Regions from separate parts of the Homo sapiens genome. Here regions 2 and 3 are each linked to region 1. Evidence: promoter capture Hi-C in 16 types of primary human blood cells and fetal thymus (Javierre and others, 2016). All regions are on one chromosome and are shown on one strand. Each heading gives the region's core, a stretch centred on a gene start or on the middle of the fragment in contact. The rest is flanking DNA. Distances are from core to core; before and after follow the strand shown. Region 1 holds the start of GPR3 (G protein-coupled receptor 3). Region 2 overlaps WDTC1 (WD and tetratricopeptide repeats 1). Region 3 overlaps WDTC1 (WD and tetratricopeptide repeats 1).

Region 1 (2,894 bases), core at 89-2,588:
GGCCTGGGATCCTCAGGCCTCTTAACCTCATCTTCCCCTCCCACAGGCCTGCATGATTCCAGGGAGCATCAAGGCAAGAGACACAGGGAGAAGGAGCAGCCAGTCCCCCTGCCGCAGGACTGGCCACATCTGTCACATCTGGAGAAGTCTGCCCAGAGTGGTTCCCCTGGACTAAGGGCAGATGGCGTTGGGGAAGAGGGAGCTCTTTCTCCTTGCTCCACCCATCAGGATGCCTAAAATAGGAGGCTGAGAGGGGCCTGCCCTGAGGACTGAGCTGCCAGGCTTTCTGCTTCCAAGTTCTTCCCGGCTCCCCATCTCCTCCTGCTTCAGGGAAGTGCACCCCTCACCCCCTCCACGCTGGCTTTCTAGATACTGGAATAAATAATTCAGGTTTTGAAATCTTGCCAGGCCCACCCCTCCGGTGCTGTGAGGGCGCTATTGGGCTGACATGAGTGACGTCACCCAGCTCTTATCCCAGCCCCGGCATCACGGGACTTGCCCTGGCAGCAACTTACCTGCCTGGTCACTGTCAGTCCAGACCCTCTACCCTGTGCCCCTCACCCTGGAGCCCACTCACCACAGCCACCTGCTATCTTCGTTCCAGGGCCCCACAGTCCTCATGGCTTAGCATTGTCGCTTCAGTACCCCAGCCATTCTGACAGGGTAATGGTGACCTGAAGTCACCTGGACACTCCATGTTCCCAGGCCGCTGCCTCTGCCATCCCGGGGTCCCTGAACTCCCCCCTGCTGCATAGTCACCCTGACACTGCCATGGTTGCCCTGAGGGCTTCCCCTCTACCGTTAGCGTCCCACGGCCATCACCCCCCACCCCAAGATTCTGTCACCATGCTAATGTCGTCACTGCCACCCACCTCCCCGCTCCCTCGTGCTCCCTGTCATCGTCACCTCAGGGCCCCATCATCTTGGAAACCCTGTCATTCTCACCAGGGAAGCCCAACCAGCCCCATCACAAGCTCTTCCTTCGTCACCTGGATCTCGTCAGCCTCTCTGCCACCCAAGGGTCCCATCACCCCACAGCCTAGCCGGGCCCCCTTTCCACTCTTCCACCACGTTCCCTGCAGCCTCTCTGAGACTTCAAGGCTCTCGCACCGGCGCCTCTGAAACCCCCGGCCCGCAGAGGGCGCCGCGTCAAGGACAGCGCGGGCGGACTCGGGAGGGGGCGGGGCCGCAGCCACGGTCGCTTTTTATGAATGGGGGAGCGGGCGGTGCGAGGCCTTATTACTATGCCGCGCAACGCGCGCTGCGCCCCAGCGCGCCGCGCCCATTGGCTGATCGGACCGCTGACGTCACCGAACCGGTGGCCGGGGGCGGGGCGGGGTGACTCACGCCGCTTCTCCCGCGGCCGCGGGGGCTTCTCGGGGTCCACGCACGCCCTGCGCCGCCAGGACCCGAGCGGAGCCTCCCCGCGGCCCGGCCGCGCCTGGTCCTGAGCGGTGAGTAGCGGGCCCCGCCGCGGGCACCAGGGGTCCTGAAGGGCACGCAGGATGCTGGGGCACTGGGCCGGCGGAAGGCTCCTAGTGGCCGGCCGGGGTTCGAGTTCGAGGTGGGAATTCTGGGTTTAGGCGATTCTGGGTTAGCAGGCTTGGGCCCAAGTGCTCGAGTGCTGGGGTTGAGTTGGATGACCCGGCGAAGGGTAAGCATTCCTGCAGGGACCCGAGGCCCTGGAGGGACTGATGGTCATCTGAGGTTAAGCCGGCAGGAGGCGTCTGGGGCAGGGACCCAGGGGTCCGAACAGCAGGAGGTGTCCAATTTAGGAATCCAGGTATCCAGGCAGGAGGCAGAGTCAGGCCCAAAATCCAGGTGTCCGGGCAGAAGGAGGCATCTGACTCAGGGATCCAGTCTTCCAGCAGGGGGGTCTGCCCAGAGACCTAGAGATTCAGGCGGAAAGAAGGGTCCAGCCAGGAACAGAAGTCTGGGAGGGTGGGGGGTGGGGGGCTGAGTTCCCAGGTGTTACCGCGGGAGTGCGGGGTGATGGCTGGCGGGAGCTTCACGCGCATTCCCTGGGGGCGGAGTCTAAGGCTGGCAGTACTGAAAATCGTGAGGGGTCTGGGAGCCTCAGGCACGAGCTAGCATCATCATCTCTGATGGGAGGGAGCGGAGCTGCTCAGTCTCCCTGATGGGGTAGATGTTTCCCTACCCCAATCTTGAGCCTTCGGGGGCATCCCCTGGATCCTATGGCCCTCTTCCACTTATAGTACCCCTTCTTCTGTCTCTCCTCTGGTCACACACGTGGGAAAAAGAGACCTGCAGGACCTAGGACAGGGATCCCCAGGAAGAGACCCCTGTTTAGAGGCCTGGGGGCATTGGAGGGGACAGCGGTATCCTGGGAAGAGCCCCAGGGCATGAATGTGGGGATAAGGCATTGGGACCCTATCAGGTATCCTGAGGAGAGACTCCCACCACGTATCCTGAGAAGCACCTCACCCCCTCCAGACCCCAACTCCCATCACCCAGCTTGGTCAGCTTCTCACAAGGCCTTTCTCCTGCAGGTACCATGATGTGGGGTGCAGGCAGCCCTCTGGCCTGGCTCTCAGCTGGCTCAGGCAACGTGAATGTAAGCAGCGTGGGCCCAGCAGAGGGGCCCACAGGTCCAGCCGCACCACTGCCCTCGCCTAAGGCCTGGGATGTGGTGCTCTGCATCTCAGGCACCCTGGTGTCCTGCGAGAATGCGCTAGTGGTGGCCATCATCGTGGGCACTCCTGCCTTCCGTGCCCCCATGTTCCTGCTGGTGGGCAGCCTGGCCGTGGCAGACCTGCTGGCAGGCCTGGGCCTGGTCCTGCACTTTGCTGCTGTCTTCTGCATCGGCTCAGCGGAGATGAGCCTGGTGCTGGTTGGCGTGCTGGCAATGGCCTTTACCGCCAGCATCGGCAGTC
Region 2 (2,920 bases), core at 153-2,652, 85 kb before region 1:
TGAGCCCCACGTGTGTCACCCCTTTCTCCACCACAGAGTGAAGACCTCACAGGCCGAGTCGTGGAAGATATGGAGGGTGCTTCACAGGCCAACCAGCGGCGCATGAATGCAGACCCGTTGGAGGTGATGCTGCTCAACATGGGCTACCGGATCACGGGCCTGAGCAGTGGGGGTGCCGGGGCCTCTGATGATGAGGACAGCTCTGAGGGCCAGGTGCAGTGCCGGCCCAGCTAGACCCTCCAGCCCTGGTCCCCAGCCCCTGCTACTGGCTGGACCCTCTGCCCTGGGCAGGAGGTCAGGGGATTCTGTTTTGGTTTGTCTTCCCCACCACCCTTTTTTTTCATTTCCCCTGTTTTGTTTGTTAGTTTGGCGTTAGGGGTGGAGGTTGCTACAACTTGCTGGCTTTCGGACTCTGGGCTGATTGTCCCCTGACTATCCCCAGCCCTGAAAAAAAGAGCAGGAGGGGACACCCCTCCATATGCCCCCCCCCATCTCCTGCTTTCATGTCCCTGGAGGGCTCTGGCCTGCCTCAAAACCCCTTCTGCCTCAGGTGGGGAGGAACAAGCTGAACTGTCTTCAGGGACTGTCCTGCCCTTTAGCTGGCAGCAGCAGGAGGAGTGGGATTCCCAATTGGTAAGGGCTCGCCTTGGCCTGTTGCCACTCTTGCTCCCTAGCCTGCAAGGCTAGCTCCCCTGTGGTCTTCAGGAAAGGTTTTGAAAAAGGATGGGTCCCACCCTCCCTCCAGAGCCACCAGTGTTAGAGCGGAGCCCAAAGGAAGGATGGGAGCCCTGGAGTGGGCAAGACCAGGCCACCTGCTGAGGTCGCTGTGGAGCACCCTCGCTCCTCTCCTGGCTACTAGCTCTGGCCCTGCACCTACTCTCACTGGCCACCTCTGGAGGCTCTGCCTTTCCCAAGGGCCCTGGCAGAGGGTGGGGCACTGCACCTTACCCCACCCATCCATGCCAGCACTTCTGCACTACGGCCATTCTCCTCTTGGGCGCTCCTCAGCCTCACTGTGACCTTTCTGCCAGAGCTCCCAGCCAGGCCTACTCTGCTGAGGTGGCGCTTCCTGCTAAGGGCCCTTCTCTGCCCTTTCTGCCCTCCTTCCCATCCCACATGCTGAGCCGCCACAAAGACCAAAGAAGTGATGGCTTTTCTCTGTCCCCTGCTGCTCTGAGGGGAGAGGGGTGGGTCTCCTGAGCCACTCAGATGGGAAAGTCCCTTACTCGGCCCCTCCCTCCCCAGCAGCCCCAAGCTTTACACTGGATGCAGCGATCAACCCACCACTCACCAGGCCTCTCCTCCCCTCTGCCCCCGGCTCTTAGCTCCAGCTGCTCCAGGTAGTTGGTTCATCCTTCCCCCTCTCTCCCTCCCTGCTTCCCCTTCAGTGCTTACTTGGCTCCAGCCCTCCAGCTGCAGCCCCTGGGGAAAAGCAGCCTCCCTTCTCCTCTCCCTCCACTCCCTCGCTCCCTCCCTCAGCCCCTGTCTCTGCCAGGTGCCTCCTCTCAGTCAGGCTTCAGAGCAGCCCTGGAGACAGGAGGGCCATGTTAAAAGCTTTTTCACAGTTTTAAGAAGACAAGTGGAGGGTGAGGATAGTGGTGGGGGGTCTGGCACCATCTCATTGCTTTAATCCCAGCAACACAGGTGGCAGCTTCTCCCCCTTCCTTCCCACCCCAGTCCCTCTTCCCACCCCTCTCTTCTAGCTTGGTAATGAAGTATATTTATTGGTGAAGGAAACAGCTGCTGCTGCTTCTCCTGCTGCTGGGACCTGCTCCCCTGTCTCTTCTCCGTGACCTTTCTCTAGCCAGGGAGAAGGGAGAGCAGGAGTATTGGGGCTGGGCCCTGGGGCCCAAGGACCAGCTGGGTCCCCTTTGCTTTCTTGTGTTCCAGCCACCTGCCATTTCCTCCCTGCCTCCCACCCTCCCTCCCTGCCCCCTGTCCTGCTTCCCACCCCCTGCCTGCCCAGCCTGGGCCCTGCAGTGTGGAGAGACACATAAGCCTTACTGTCCTCTGGGGGCAGGAGCCGAGCCTTTTTGTTGCTCCGCTCCCAGGAGAGTGAGGGTGACGCAATTGATTAAAACCATTTTGTTCTAGGTGTGGCTGGTGGCATTTGTGGGGTGCAGATGGGTCTTGGAACCAAAGTGAGGGCACCTGGTCCCTCACCTCTGTAGCTCTATGACTTAGTAACCACACCTCTACTGGACAGAATGAGGCCTGCCTTGAAGGGTCACCGTGAGCAGCGGCCACCCAGCCCAGCAGGGCTGAGTGCAGAGCCCAGCTCTCATGGCTGTGATTTGTAATCATCAGCTTTCACTCTCTGGCTGTTTTCTCATCAGTAAAATAAGGGACTTGGAATCTTAGTGGTTTTTCAAACCATTTTACATTGTGACCCAATATACACATGATTACTTGTAGATATGTGTGTGTGTATATATATATAAAAAAAATGAACAAAAGTTTTACACAATAATATTTACCCTTGCTACATGCAGTGTACTCTGCTTACCCTTCTGTTTTATTAGGGAAAAAAATATGGCTATAACCCACTAAATTGATTTCACATATGCAAGTTTTTGAAGTGCCCTGGATTAGATAATCTCTTAGACTATAGGTTCCTGAACTTTCTTAGCTCACAGCACCATTACCATCTCAGTAATTTTTTCATGGAGCCTCTAAGCCAAAAGAAATAACAGTTCAATTTATTAAGTAGTTAAGTCCAAATCACTTAAAAAGTATTTATGTCCTAACAAGTTAGTTGCCATTTAAAAAATAATACACCTGAATTGGAAGAAACAATATTTATTTCATTCTTTTTTTTTTTTTTTTTTTTTGAGACGGAGTCTTGCTCTGTTGCCCAGGCTGGAGTGCAGTGGCATGATCTCAGCTCACTGCAACCACCGCCTCCCGGGTTCAAGTGATT
Region 3 (2,971 bases), core at 240-2,739, 100 kb before region 1:
CAGCAGATTAACAAGTGAACAAAGGTCTCTGGTTTTCCTAGGCAGAGGACCCTGCGGCCCTCTGCAGTGTTTGTGTCCCTGGGTACTTGAGATTAGGGAGTGGTGATGACTCTTAATGAGCATGCTGCCTTCAAGCATCTGTTTAACAAAGCACATCTTGCACCGCCCTTAATCCATTTAACCCTGAGTGGACACAGCACATGTTTCAGAGAGCACAGGGTTGGGGGTAAGGTCACAGATCAACAGGATCCCAAGGCAGAAGAATTTTTCTTAGTACAGAACAAAATGAAAAGTCTCCCATGTCTACTTCTTTCTACACAGACACGGCAACCATCCGATTTCTCAATCTTTTCCCCACCTTTCCCCCCTTTCTATTCCACAAAACCGCCATTGTCATCCTGGCCCGTTCTCAATGAGCTGTTGGGTACACCTCCCAGACGGGGTGGTGGCCAGGCAGAGGGGCTCCTCACTTCCCAGTAGGGGTGGCCGGGCAGAGGCACCCCTCACCTCCCGGACGGGGCGGCTGGCCGGGCGGGGGGCTGACCCCCCCCCCACCTCCCTCCCGGACGGGGCGGCTGGCTGGGCGGGGGGCTGACCCCCCCACCTCCCTCCCGGACGGGGCGGCTGGCCGGGCAGGGGGCTGACCCCCCCACCTCCCTCCTGGACGGGGCGGCTGGCTGGGCAGAGGGGCTCCTCACTTCCCAGTAGGGGCGGCCGGGCAGAGGCGCCCCTCACCTCCCGGACGGGGCGGCTGGCCGGGCAGAGGGGCTCCTCACTTCCCAGACGGGGTGGTTGCCGGGCGGAGAGGCTCCTCACTTCTCAGACGGGGCGGCTGCCGGGCAGAGGGGCTCCTCAGTTCTCAGACGGGGTGGTTGCCAGGCAGAGGGTCTCCTCACTTCTCAGACGGGGCGGCTGGGCAGAGACGCTCTTCACCTCCCAGACGGGGTCGCGGCCGGGCAGAGGCGCTCCTCACATCTCAGACGATGGGCGGCCGGGCAGAGACGCTCCTCACTTCCTAGATGGGATGGCGGCCGGGCAGAGACGCTCCTCACTTTCCAGACTGGGCAGCCAGGCAGAGGGGCTCCTCACATCCCAGACGATGGGCGGCCAGGCAGAGACGCTCCTCACTTCCCAGACGGGATGGCGGCCAGGCAGAGGCTGCAATCTCGGCACTTTGGGAGGCCAAGGCAGGCGGCTGGGAGGTGGAGGTTGTAGCAAGCCGAGATCACGCCACTGCACTCCAGCCTGGGCACCATTGAGCACTGAGTGAACGAGACTCCGTCTGCAATCCCGGCACCTCGGGAGGCCGAGGCTGGCGGATCACTCGCGGTTAGGAGCTGGAGACCGGCCCGGCCAACACAGCGAAACCCCGTCTCCACCAAAAAAATACGAAAACCAGTCAGGCGTGGCGGCACGCGCCTGCAATCGCAGGCACTCGGCAGGCTGAGGCAGGAGAATCAGGCAGGGAGATTGCAGTGAGCCGAGATGGCAGCAGTACAGTCCAGCTTCGGCTCGGCATCAGAGAGAGACCGTGGAAAGAGAGGGAGAGGGAGACCGTGGAAAGAGAGGGAGAGGGAGACCGTGGGGAGAGGGAGAGGGAGACCGTGGGGAGGGGGAGGGGGAGAGGGAGAGGGAGCTAATTAATTTATTTTCTGAGACAGGGTCTCACTCCATTCTATTGCCGAGGTTGGAGTGCAGTGGCGTGATCATGGCTCACTGCAGCCTTGACTTCCTGGGCTCAGGCGATTCTCCCACCTCAGCCTCCTGAATACCTGGGACTACAGACACGCTCCACCATGCTTGGCTAATTTTTCTATTTTTTTTGTAGAGATGGGGTTTCTCTGTGTTGCCCAGGCAGGTCTCAAACTCCTGGGCTCAAGTGATCCTCCCACCTCGGCCTCCCACAGTGCTATGATTGCTGGTGTGAGCTACCACACCTGGCCTTATTTTATTTTTACTTATTGGTTTACTTTTTTGTCTGTATCCTCACTAAATAGTAAAAGTAAACTCTCTTAGAGCAACTCCATGTCTGTCTTGTTCTTGGTTGTATCCCTAGAGCCCAGCACAGCGCCTGGCACATAGAGCCGCTTGATACATTTCTCTTGAACAGTTGGTCAGTGGCTATATACCTGGGAGGGGGCAAGCCACCCGGAAATGGTAAAATGGACTGTCCCCTTTTCCAGTGCCCTGCATTGTTACACATTTGCCTCTACTTCCCTTCATTCTAAAATGGTGTCGTTGCCCTTCTTTAACTCCTTTCTTCAGCTGTGACCTTAGAACTTCTTTCTTATCTCCCCAGCCTGCTTTAATCTGTCTCCCTTGAGTTCCTGTAGGACTTTGTGCCCTCTTTCCTTTTACAGATGAGGAATATCTAAGTCATATATAAATTATAACATAGTCAAGAGCAAGGCAGTGAAGTCAGACAGACCTGGGGTCAAATCCTAGCAATCGCACTCAGTATTTGACTGGGGTAAGTCACTGCATCCCTGAACCTCAGAAGACAGAATGCACTTTGTCAGTGGCAGGTCCAACTCTGTGTAGCACTTTTTGACCTTGGCTGACCAGATTTTGCCAGGGCCAGCTGGTAGAAGCGGAGCGTCTAGCGCATTGGGTAGGATCCTAAGTGTTTAGGCATAGGCACAGTCAGAGAAGGTGTCCTAGCAGAAGGTGAACATAAGCTGGGCCTTCCAGAACAGACAGGATTTGGATGAGCAAGGAAAAGCAGAGTGTATTCCCCAGCTTGAGCAGAGTTTGCAAAGGCAGAAATAAACATGGCATGTGCAGGATAAAGAATTCTGTAGTTATAATTGACCCACATTTAGAAAACTGAGGAATAAGGTTGGAGAGAAATGTGAAATTGAGTCTTGAAAACCAGACTGAGGAGTTTGGTAAAAGTAAACTTGTGCTAAAAGTATTGAGGAATCTCTGCAATTTTTTTGAGCAGGAGAGTGATGTAAAATAATATTTTAGG

The links. Contacts are between HindIII fragments. The CHiCAGO score rates a contact against its expected background, and 5 or more counts as called.
Region 2: a fragment that was not itself captured here is called in contact with the fragment with the promoter of GPR3 in region 1 in 16 of 17 cell types (M1 macrophages, total CD8 T cells, M0 macrophages and 13 more); the score reaches 9.6 in M1 macrophages.
Region 3: a contact is called between a fragment that was not itself captured here and the fragment with the promoter of GPR3 in region 1, in 11 of 17 cell types (M0 macrophages, M2 macrophages, total CD8 T cells and 8 more). The highest score is 7.6, in M0 macrophages.

The regions. Positions count from the first base shown.
Region 1 is chr1:27,391,284-27,394,177 of GRCh38, forward strand. GPR3 (G protein-coupled receptor 3) reads left to right here and starts at 1,339. Exons shown (of 2, transcript NM_005281.4): 1 at 1,339-1,454; 2 at 2,511-2,894. The coding sequence starts at 2,516. RefSeq lists enhancers at 1-491, 492-1,028, 1,566-2,101 and a silencer at 1,043-1,542. The HindIII fragment of the contact is 9,449 bases long and covers 1-2,894 here.
Region 2 is chr1:27,306,150-27,309,069 of GRCh38, forward strand. It overlaps WDTC1 (WD and tetratricopeptide repeats 1), which reads left to right. Exons shown (of 16, transcript NM_001276252.2): 16 at 37-2,487. The coding sequence ends at 234. Among named protein-coding and RNA genes, the nearest start is that of TMEM222, 15 kb to the right of the region's middle. RefSeq lists enhancers at 1,107-1,632, 1,633-2,158, 2,159-2,683. The HindIII fragment of the contact is 299 bases long and covers 1,254-1,552 here.
Region 3 is chr1:27,288,441-27,291,411 of GRCh38, forward strand. All of the region lies in intron 6 of WDTC1 (WD and tetratricopeptide repeats 1), which reads left to right. Among named protein-coding and RNA genes, the nearest start is that of TMEM222, 32 kb to the right of the region's middle. RefSeq lists an enhancer at 800-1,785. The HindIII fragment of the contact is 3,699 bases long and covers 1-2,971 here.